Regions from separate parts of the Homo sapiens genome. Here region 1 is linked to region 2. Evidence: promoter capture Hi-C in human tissues and cell types (Jung and others, 2019). All regions are on one chromosome and are shown on one strand. Each heading gives the region's core, a stretch centred on a gene start or on the middle of the fragment in contact. The rest is flanking DNA. Distances are from core to core; before and after follow the strand shown. Region 1 overlaps AFF3 (ALF transcription elongation factor 3). Region 2 holds the start of AFF3 (ALF transcription elongation factor 3).

Region 1 (5,778 bases), core at 2,831-5,330, 520 kb after region 2:
AGATCACCTGAGGTCAGGAGTTTGAGACCAGCCTGGCCAACATGGTGAAACCCCGTCTCTACTAAAAATAACAAAAATTAACTGGGCATGGTGGCACGCGCCTGTAATCCCAGCTAGTCAGGAGGCTGAGGCAGGAGAATCGCTTGAACACGGGAGGCAGAGGTTGCAGCGAGCCAAGATTGTGCCATTGCACTCCAGCCTAGGCAACAGAACAAGACTCTGTCTCAAAAAAAAAAAAAAATCAGTCAAGCATGGTGGCACGTGCCTGTAATCCCAGCTACTCAGGAGGCTGAGGCAGGAGAATCTCTGGAACCCAGGAAGTGGCAGTTGCAGTGAGCCAAGATCACGCCAGTGCACTCCAGCATGGGTGACAGAGCGAGACTCCATCTCAAGAAAAAAGAAAAAAAAAAAGAAAGAAAGGGTATTCAAATAGGAAGAGAGGAAGTCAAATTATCTTTGTTTGCAGATGACACGATCCTGTATCTAGAAAACCCCCATTGTCTCAGTTCAAAAGCTTCTTAAGCTGATGAGCAACTTCAGCAAAGTCTCAGGATATAAAATCAACATGCAAAAATCACTAGTATTCCTATACACCAACAATAGGCAAGCAGAGAGCCAAATCATGAACTCCCATTCACAATTGTCACAAAAAGAATAAAATGCCTAGGAATACAGCTAACAAGGGAAGTGAAGGACCTCTTCAAAGAGAACTACAAACCACTGCCCAAGGAAATCAGAGAGGACACAAATGAATAAACATTTTATGCTTTTGGATAGGAAGAATCAATGTCATGAAAATGGCCATACTGCCCAAAGAAATTTACAGATTCAGTGTTATTCCCATTAAACTACCATTGACATTCTTCAAAGAATTAGAAATAAACTATTTTAAAGTTCATATGAAACCAAAAAAGAGCCCTAGTAGCCAAGGCAATCCTAAGCAAAAAGAACAAAAAGCTGGAGGCATCGTACTACCCAACTTCAAACTATACTACAGGGCTATGGTAACCAAAACAACATGGGTACTGGTACAAAAACAGACACATAGACCAATGGAACAGAATAGAGAGCCCAGAAAAAAGGCCATACACCTATAACCATCTGATCTTTGACAAAAGAAGCAATGGGGAAAGGATTCCCTATTTAATAAATAATGCTGGGAAAACTGGGTAGCCATATGCAGAAGATTGAAATTGGACCCCTTCCTTATACCATTTACAAAAATCAACTCGAGATAGATTAAAGACTTAAGTATAAAACCCCAAAACTATAAAAACCCTGGAAGACAACGTAGGCAATATTCTGGTCATATGAATGGGCAAAGATTTCATGACAAAGATGCCAAAAGCAATTGCAATAAAAGCAAAAATTGACACATGGGATCCAATTAAACTAAAGAGCTTCTGCACAGCAAAAGAAACCATCAACAGAGTAAACAGACAACCTTCATAATGGGAGAACATTTTTGCAAACTATGCATCTGACAAAGCTCTAATATCCAGCATTTCTAAGGAACTTAAACAAATTTACAAGAAAAAAACAACCCTATTAAAAAGTAGGCAAAGGACATGGTCAGACACTTTACAAAAGAAGACATACATGCGGCCAACAAGCATATGAAAAAAAGCTCAACATCACTGATCATTAGAGAAATGCAAATCAAAACGACACTGAGATACCATCTCACACCAATCAGAATGGCTATTATTTAAAAGTCAAAAAAAAACAGATGTTAGCGAGGTTGTGGAGAAAAAGGAACGTTATACACTGTTGGTGGGAATGTAAATTTTATTTCAGCCATTGTGGAAAACACTGGTGATTCCTCGAAGACCTAAAAACAGAACTGTTCAACCCAGCAATTCCATTACTGGATATATACCCAAAGGAATATAAATCATATTATAAGACACATGTATGCATATATTCATTGCAGCACTATTCACAATAGCAGAGACATGGAATCAACCCAGATGCCCAGCAGTGGTGGACTGGATAAAGAAAATATGGTACATACACACCATGGAATACTATGCTACTATGCGGCCATAAAAAAGAACAAATCATGTTCCTTGCAGGAACATGGATGTAGCAGGAATCCATTATCCTTAGCAAACGAACACAGGAAAGGAAACTAACTACAGTATGTTCTCACTTACAAGTGAAAGCTAAACGATGAAAACACATGGACACATAGAGGAGAACAACAGACACTGGGGCCTGTCAGTTGATGGAGGCTGGGAGGAGGGAGATAGTCAGAAACAATAACTAATGGATAACAGGCTTAACACCTGGGTGACAAAATAATCTGCACATCAAACCCGGTGACATAAGTTTACCTGTATAACAAACCTGCACATGTACCCCTGACCTTAAAGGTGAAAGAAAGGAAAGGAGAGGGGAGGGGAGGGGAGGGAGAAGGGAGAAGGGAGGGAGGAAGGAAGGAAGAGGAAGGGGAAAGGGAAGGGAAGGAAGGGGAAGAGAAGGAGAGGGAGGGAGGGAGGAAGGAAGGAAGGGGAAGGGAAGGAGAGGGAGGGAGGAGAGAGAAAGGGAGGGGAGGGAAGGGAAGGGAGGAAGAAGGGAGGGAGGAAGGAAGGGAGGAAAGAGGAAGGAAGGAAGGAAAGAGAGAGGAGGGAAGGAAGGAAGGAAGGGAGGGAGGCAGACTTTCCAAAGGAATTTTCTACCTTTTCTGTAGTGTAAAAATAAAACTGGCAACAACAAACGTGAGCTTGGGAAATGGACTCTAGGTTTGCAGATACTGTGTTCTTTCAGTAAAACACCACAAAGAGAGCTTGTCTTTATTAAATTCCAACATTTCTACCAAGCTGGTTCTGTTGAATAAAATAACATCTTCTAATGTTCTAGTGTCCAAACGCAGCAGCTTCCGATGGGTGGCACTCAGCTAGCTCAGATGAACTGAAGACCCTTCAGTAACTGCGTTCTCTATACCTGAACTGGAACGCAACTGGGACATTTCTTTTTATAGAAATTCTAATCTTTTCATGTGGCCACTTGAGAATTCTAAATTAGCTGGAAGGTGTTTCAGTCACCAAGATGTAAACAGGTTTTATTTCACTGGAAAAGTGGTTACATAAAGCTTGCCTTTCATCCCCTTCAACTAATTCAAAAGCTCTAAAGAGAAATATTTTAACCTTGAATTTTGCAACTTTGAAATAGACTCATATGATATTTTATCAGTGCTTTACTTTTATCTTCTGACTGTTCTTCCATTACAACTGTTGTATTACATTGCTTTTTAAATAGCTTTGGCAACCTGAAATATGAATTCCCAGGCCCTCAAACTTTCCTTCTGTGATTAATTATAATTAATCCTCTCGCTTGTCATTTCGTCTAGTATCCTGTCATACAACCCAGAAGACACTTTGCAAAATTTCAAGCAGGAAATCTCCTGCACATGGTTTAATGTTGATGCTGTTTCCAGGTGTCATTTATCTTCCTTAAGTAATCCATACACAACCCCTCCAAGAAAGGCCCTCTCTGTGCTCAGCACCAGACATGCTCAGCACCACACATCTTTATGTTGGATGGATAAGAAAGATTGCAAACTTAAGGTTGCCAGATTCAGCAAGTAAAAATCCAGGAACAATGAATAATTCTGTAGTCTAAATGTGTCCCTAATATTGCATATTTTTCATTGTTTATCTGAAATTCAAATTTCACGGGGTGCCCTGTATTTTGCCTGGCAACCCTACGCAAACGATATTTTGATTGAAAGACCGTTAAGAAAAAAGTATTCTCTAAAAGTATTTGATCTTTCTTGGAAATTGCATAAGAAAATGTCAGGATCTTGAAAGACCATCTATATACAAACAGTGGATGCAACTTAAGTCAAAATTCTATCTCGCCCTTCAAGAAAGCTTCCTTGAAAATGAATCTCCTCTCTTTCCAAGCAGTAGAATAAGCATCTCACTTCCAGCAGGAGCTGTGCACAACCGTTCCTCCAGATTTTCCACGAGAGACTGTATCTTGTGTGTGTCAAGTGTGTGTGGTGCTTGCTGCAAGCACTGGGCCTGTTTGGAAATCGGTAGGGTGGAGCCGTATGCAGGTCGGAGGCATCTGGCGGAGCTCCCACTTGCTGCCCTCCCGCCTTCGTCTCCGGAGGGCAGACACGAGACTGCCACTTTCTCTGAAGCATGGCTGGCAGCCTCAGCACCTGGCTGGCCTTTGGGTGCTATTTCTAATTTGTATTTTTGCTGAGTTACTTGTGCCAAGGACTGTCTGCTTTGATAAAGTGGAAGCTTTTTCTTGCTGCCATTAAGGAGAATTCCTGACCTATGTGCACGTCTGTGATGAGGCTGAGGAGATTTTTCTATTGACCTCTAATAACAGGAGGCAACGGGCCAGGGCCTCACCTCCTTGCAAGTGGCATTGGACTGCGAGGCTCTTATTAATGGGGCTGCGTGTGGGTGACACTTTCTTTCAAGCTCTGTTTTTAAACACCATTACTCCCTTGGTTATCACATCCTATTAATTATTCATTGACTGACTTTTCTCCAACAGTAGCTAATGAGGTAAGTTACACAATGGCAATGGTAGTAAATATTATAATATAAAAGCAATTACTGAAGTGGTAGTTTTAATTCAAAATTATTTTAATTACATGGGACTCCAGCTTATTTAAAATTCTGTCTCCATGGAGCTTTCTGTAAGCTTCCCAAACTGTCACCTCCTTGGTTACCTGGAGATAGTCTGGGAAATTTTCTTCCACCTTTCTACTAGCAAGCACCTAGGGGAATTCAAGCAGATAGGTAGCTGGGTAGATGATTGGCAGGAACTGGATGCCTTCAGAAGGCAACAATCCCCAGAACCTTGGAGGTAGCTGTGGCTTGGGCATTTTCTTTTAGAGGAAGACAAAGGTAGAAGCAACCCGGTGGCTCCAGGCAGGAGCAGTGAACTGTGCAGCCTCCCAGGGCCCTGTACGCCGATGGCCTCTTACTTAGTTTAATGCTCTGTGGTTGGCATATTGAAATCCTTAATAACTTTATCTTTGAATTCGTGTTTTTTAAGTGAAGTCCAATGGGATGATGGAGCATCTGCCTGGGCTCAGAGCCTTGGCTCCCATGGGTCCCTCTCAGCTGCCAGCTCCAGCCTGCTGCCCTGGCCCCACCTGGCCTTGCCTGTTCCACCCTACACAGTAACTGCTGCTACCCAGCACCCCAGGAGGGCATGGGTGCATGCCAGGTCAGGACAGGGCTCACAGGCCCAGACATGGCACCCGCGTTTTGCCCCAAGCTGACAGCACAAGGGCACATGCAGTGGGTGGCTGGGCAGGGGGACGAGCCTCTCCCCGACCCTAACCCAGAGGCCTCATGTGTCCCAGTTCAAAGGTTGCAGTCCCCATGGGGATTGTCTTCTCTCCCGTGTCGGTTGGGCCCATGAGACACAGAGATACCTGGCTCAACCTCACTCACCCCAGCCAGGGCATCACACGCCCATCCTGGGCTGGCAGAGGTGGGGAGCTCCTTGCACATGCTAAATTGCAGGGCGAGCCTCCAGATACCCGTGGGATCCTACACTCACCGCATGAGTATTCCAGTGCCCAGCAAGCATGACATTAAGTAGCAAATTAAAATGCCTTGACCAATTGACAGACCATAGAAGAAAGGAGGAACCTTTGTATTTTGAGCGCCTAGGATGGCACTTTTATCTTGCTCTTTGAACAAGGGGCTCTCATTTGCATTTTGCACTGCAAATGATGTGGCAGGTCCTGGCTCCAGGAATGGGGAAGCTGATCATTGCCCTTATTTGGCATCAGGAAAG
Region 2 (5,621 bases), core at 934-3,433:
AAAGTTCAAGAAACCATGAGTGGTGGTGGGATTGTTGGGTGGTGAGGAAGGAAGTGGTATCAAGGATGGCAAGAGATGGTATTGGGGAGTGGGCAGAGGCCACTGAATCCAACATCTCGCCTGCCCAGCGATGGAGCCTTGGGATTTTCCTGTGGGTGACAGGGAGCCATTGAAGCGTTTAAGGACTGGTCGTGGGGTGAGGGGAGTGTACTGTCATCATTTTTGTAGTCTTTTGCAGAGAAAATTTGGAGGCAGTTTGGAAAACACTCTAGAGCCTGACATGTGAGAGATGAGTTAGGAGGTCACGTGTCCCCACTTTTCTAATTTTGTATCTTCTTCAGCAAAAAAGTCTTTGCCGCCTATTCTGAGCAGATGTATGATTATTCACAAATGATATACAATACAACTGTATTCACACATTGCATGCCTTGAAACATACACAAAATGTAAACACTAAAAACATGACGTAAAAATAGATGTAAGTCTGGGAACTCGATGGAGGTGGTGGCTGCACAGCATTGTGAGTGTACTCAATGCCACAGGATTCCCCATCTTAAAACGGCTCATTTTATGGTATGTGAGTCTTAATTAAATACAAAAACCAGACAAGTGTGGGTAGATAGACATTCAATTCCTTTCTTCTCATCCTTCAGTGAACGGTCTGGTGTGCCCTGGGTGCACGTACCCCTTGGGGATTAGGGCAGTGATGAGAGGCAATGGAGGGAGGGTGTGGCTGTGGAGATGCGGACGGGAAGAAGGATCTGAGGAGTGACTGAAGAGGTAGAATGGGCAGGGCTTGGTGATGGAAGGTTGAAGAGTATTCAGCAAAGAGAAGAACGTGGGAAGCCTCCCCATTTCTGGTTTGGGTATAAGATAAAGAAACGTTTTCTCCTTGCCAGGGACATGAGGCAGACAATACTGGGATAATTTCCCAGGGCTTGGGATAGGACTGGGTGGGGAAGTTTCTAGGTATCCATTCTCAGGATAAGGACGGGCCTGTTTGGATGAGGATAATGGAGGGTCAAACCTGAAGAAGCCAGATTAGCAGAGGCAAAGTGAGAGATCAGAAGGTGGTAAACTCAGAAGGGGGTAGAGACCTGAGGAGCAAGCTGGGACAAGGCAGGAGGGAATTCACAGGCCACATGGTAAGTAATGAGTGGGGTAGAGGACAGAGCAGGGTTTCATTGTGGCGAGTCTGACGGGAGGTGCTGGGGGATGTTCCAGGAGAACAGCAGAAATGTGTGATGCTATGGATGTGGGCTTGGCAAGTTCCATCTGGAGCTGGGAAGAGGCCACCCATGGAGAACAGGAACCATGAGGCGGAGAGTGGAGCTTGCAGGAGGGCGAAAATTAAGACCAAAGAATGGAAGCCTGCCAGTGTGAGAGACCGCCTGACAAAAACCAGGAGAGTATGGAGTCATGGCGGCCCAGGCAGAAGTTCTGGGAGGAAAGAAATGGTCAACACTACAGGGAAGTCAAACACTGCCAGTGGAGACAAATAGGACAGGAACTGAAAAAGCATCCATTAGTGAATCCCTGGTGTCATTAGTGAAAATAATTCCAGGCATGAATGGGGAGAGGGAAGGGTGTCGGGCAGGAAGTCCAGTGCCCGTGGGTTGACTGAATGGGAGATGAGGAGGTAACACCCATCATGTAGGTCATGTAGAGCAGCCTTAGGACATCTGATTCCTTGCCTAAGACTCTTCTTTCCTGGTGTAGCTTTGTTCTAGAAAGGTCTGGAAGACTTGTCACAGTTCCAATGCAGGATGAGCCTTTGGTCCTGATCTCTTGGAGGCCCAGACAGCCTGGGAAACCAGCAGAGCTTTGGACAAGTTAAGCAGCCCATTGAAATCAACATTCTTGATAATCATATATCTAAGAGATTCCAAAATGTTCCTGGGATTCTTTTATGGGTCTGCATAGGGTTAGAAAGCACAGGAGTCAAAGAGACCTTCTCCCTTGGCCTCCAGGGCCACCATCCTCTGCTTTTGTCAGTTGGTCTCCCCAGAGTAGAGTCCAGGTTCCTGCTTCCAGCCTTCTGGTAGACCAGGCCCTGCCACAAGTGAGAGTTGGCCGGTTGGGTATCTGGTTTAGTCACTCGCCTCCACACTTTCACATCCTCTATCAACACCTGCACACTTGGGTTGTGACCACACATGCTCTTCCTGTTTGTACAGAAAGTGCCATTCAGAAAGCTCGCCAGCGAGAAGAGAGCTCCACGCTCAGCCTCAGAAGAAAGACGTTCAACGACTTACTGGGGAGAGAAAGAAAAGGAACGGGAGCTGAGAGGTAAGATCAAACTGGAGGGTGTGCGGGCCCTCTAGGATGCCTTGCCTGGAAGAGAGGTAGCCCCGACTTTGTGTCCTGAAGGGTGGCGCTCTAAGTAGCTGTGCCCATGCTCCGCTGGTCAGGGCAGGGGGAGCATTCTTGGTCAGCCTCACCGAGATGGTCCAGGCCCTGGTGAACAGCCAGAGGGATTGAGAAGGAAGAGATGGGATGTGACCAAAGTTGGTCACTGAAGCCGTCAGTGTGTGTGCGTGTGCATGTGTGTGTGTGTGTGTGGTAGAGGGTGCACATAAAGAAGACATAACCTGAGTGTGAACATGCTCACACACATATTTATGATGCTGGCTGGGGCCTTATGAAAAGTGTGTCTTAACCTCATGTTGCTCATTAGCTATAACCTCAAAAATAGAAACCATGACATGGCCACAGACTGGATCCCAGTCAATGGCCCCAGTGAGTGAGCTTGCAAGGAGAGATCATGGGCAGTTCCACCTAAGGCCACCGTCACTTCTGCAGAAATGACTTGGAATAATGACCTCCTCACTGTTAGGGGCTAACAGCACTATATTTGTATTTCTTGGATGGAACATTGTATATGTGTGTATTTGTGTGTGTGTGTCTGTGTATGTGCATAAACACATCATGTATTTATACACATGACATTGTGTGTATGTGTGTTTATGTGTGTATATATATGTACACACACATATGATATAATGCAATATACACAGTGACCAGATTTTTGAAACCAAAGAGAACTAATAGCAAGACAAAGGGGTTTTTTTCCTAATATGTGATTTCCTTGCTATTCGAGTCTCACATATATAAAAATGAAATATGTCTACACATGTGTTTCATAATTCCTTTTATTCAAAGAGGGGATCATTCAGGTAGCTAAAGGTCAAGTGTTTACAATAACAAAGTGGTGGTAAACTCATTCTTTGAATGTTGATCGTACAAACTAAATAATCCATCAAAAAATGTTGTCTCTGCCATTATTAAAAGCATGTGTTCCTTGGTGCAAAATTTAAGAATGTTCTAACTACAAGAGCACCTTCCTTTACCTAGGGCTATCCCATCTCACTGTTGAAGTGAAGTGATTACAGTGAAAGTAATACAGACATTTAATATTCTTAGTTTTGGTTGTGTTTCTGTCAACTGCTATTCCCTTGTTCTAGGCGTAACTGCACTTAGTGTTTAGTGGTGTTATGCATATGTATATTTGATTTGCATTTAGAAAATAGAAAAATATATACATTGCTTATTTTCCAGATTTCAAGGTTTAAATTCCCACTCTAACATGATGGTTTTAGGCAAGTCACTATACATCTCTGCATCGGAGTTCCCACATCTGTAACACAAGTACAATAGTAGATAGTAATCCCTTCCTCTTAAGAATTAAATAAGCTAATACATGTAAAGTGCTTAGACAAGTGCCTGGAACATTGAAAGGGCTCAGTAAGTATTAGCAGCTGTTATCATTGTCATCATCATCATCATCATCATCACTACCTTTTGTACAATTAAGCCATCAAACTTGAAGGGACATGGTAAGAGTTTGGGAAAGGTGAAAGGTGGGAGGTGGTGTGTGTAAAATGGGTTTGGGGGGTGACACTTAAGGCCAGAGCAGTGACATTACAGTCCTTACACTGTAGCTACAGACAAGTAGTGAGCAGGAAAGAGGAACAGCACAGAACACCCCTCCCTATGAGGCCTGCTTGTGAGAGGAACATGTTCTGGAGCTCTGTGGGCTTGATGACATGTACTCATACACATCTTGTACAGCAAACCAGGAAATAGGCACATGGAACGGTGACATCCAAATGATAGTATATAACATGCATTCAGTGCCTCTCAGGTGTGAGACGTGGTGCTCGGCATTTTACACACATTTTGTTATTGTATCTGAGCCATTGCAATTATGCTTATTTTAGAGGAGAGATTGGTAGGTAGCCTAAGAGTGCAGAGCAGGGAAATAGCAGCGTTGGGATCTGACCATCTCCAGATTCTGTGTCCCAATCCCCCACCCATCACACCCAGAATACAAAGCAAGTAGTAACAAAACGTGACCAGTGAGGACGTCCAGTTTCAGAGAGTTTAAGAAACAAGTTCAAAGTCACAGAGAAAGCTGAAGGCATGGTGAGGAGCTGGATGCTGGTTTCTAAATTCCAACCATTTTTTCTACACCACTACTCAGAGGAAGGACCTGATGTCTTGCCTATCAAGGTTGACAGCTATGGACCCTTCCATAAATAACTTTTATCTTCTGCACTTCCACATCTTTTTCTGTGAAGTGGGTGTAATGTCCTGTCCTACAGAGTTCACAGGATTTTATGAGGGCTCAATGAGTCTACATACGTAAAATGCTGTTATATTATTTCCGAGTCATGTAAGGAAAACGTGTTGAAATCCACCTTCGGTAAAGGCAAGTTAAATGGAAATGAAAAGTATAAATAATGTTGGTTCTTAATGACATGTCATTAGGTATGATTTAACTTGTTCTTTCAAATGACCCATTTGCACCCTCTGGAGCTGATGTTCCATAATTTGTGCAACCATTCCCATATATGAAAATTTAGTTGATTTCCGGTTTTTGAATATCACAAGTTAAATTGCAATGACTGTTCTAGAAATCCTTTAGTGCAATCATCCTATCTGTTCTTTTAGTATTTCCAAGTCTGACAAACAAGTCATATCTCATTTCTGCTTTCATTTGCCTTTTTTTTGGTTATTAGTGAGTTGATTCTCAATGTTTTAAAACATAGCTTTGACAAAAACTAAAAACATTATTCTTCATCCAGAAAACAGCCAAAAATACATGCTCCTTTCAAAGTGAAATGGCACCATTGTTCTCATCATTAAAATACAAGCAGGTGTTTGTGTACAAATACAAACCTATTAAAAAGCATCTTGCACAGATATTCCTCTTTGTAGTTTTTATCTGCACTAAAAATGGGGGGTTATAATGAATACAAGACAACTAGACTCCTGCAATAACTAATAAACACGACAATTTGATTTATTGCTGTTCCTCCCCTATAGCCTGTTGACAGATTTTTCTTTATGGAAAAATTACCATGGTTTAAATCTCTATCATATGGCACTTAATTCAATCGGCAATATGTTACCAATTAGATCCTGCTTAAACTACCATCAGCCAGCAGACCAGGGGACATGTTAAATGGAATGACAATCAGATAACTAGTAAAATGCTTTGTGGCAGCTTTCTCAGGACCAAGGAGCAATGTGGAGACCATGGATAATGAAGAGAGAAAGGGCAAATAGGGCTTTTACTTTTCCCCATCCTGAAAATTGAAATTGTTTCAAGTTCTCCT

The links. The method cuts DNA at HindIII sites, captures the fragments that hold promoters and counts their contacts. A contact is called where the count stands out against the background at its distance.
Region 1: a fragment that was not itself captured here is called in contact with the fragment with the promoter of AFF3 in region 2 in 3 of the 25 tissues and cell types used here (aorta, dorsolateral prefrontal cortex and mesenchymal stem cells).

Annotation. Positions count from the first base shown.
Region 1 is chr2:99,623,187-99,628,964 of GRCh38, reverse strand. The region is part of intron 13 of AFF3 (ALF transcription elongation factor 3); the gene reads left to right. Among named protein-coding and RNA genes, the nearest start is that of REV1, 140 kb to the right of the region's middle. The HindIII fragment of the contact is 4,551 bases long and covers 1,805-5,778 here.
Region 2 is chr2:100,139,152-100,144,772 of GRCh38, reverse strand. It overlaps AFF3 (ALF transcription elongation factor 3), which reads left to right and starts at 2,183. Exons shown (of 25, transcript NM_001386135.1): 1 at 2,183-2,289. The HindIII fragment of the contact is 13,656 bases long and covers 1-5,621 here.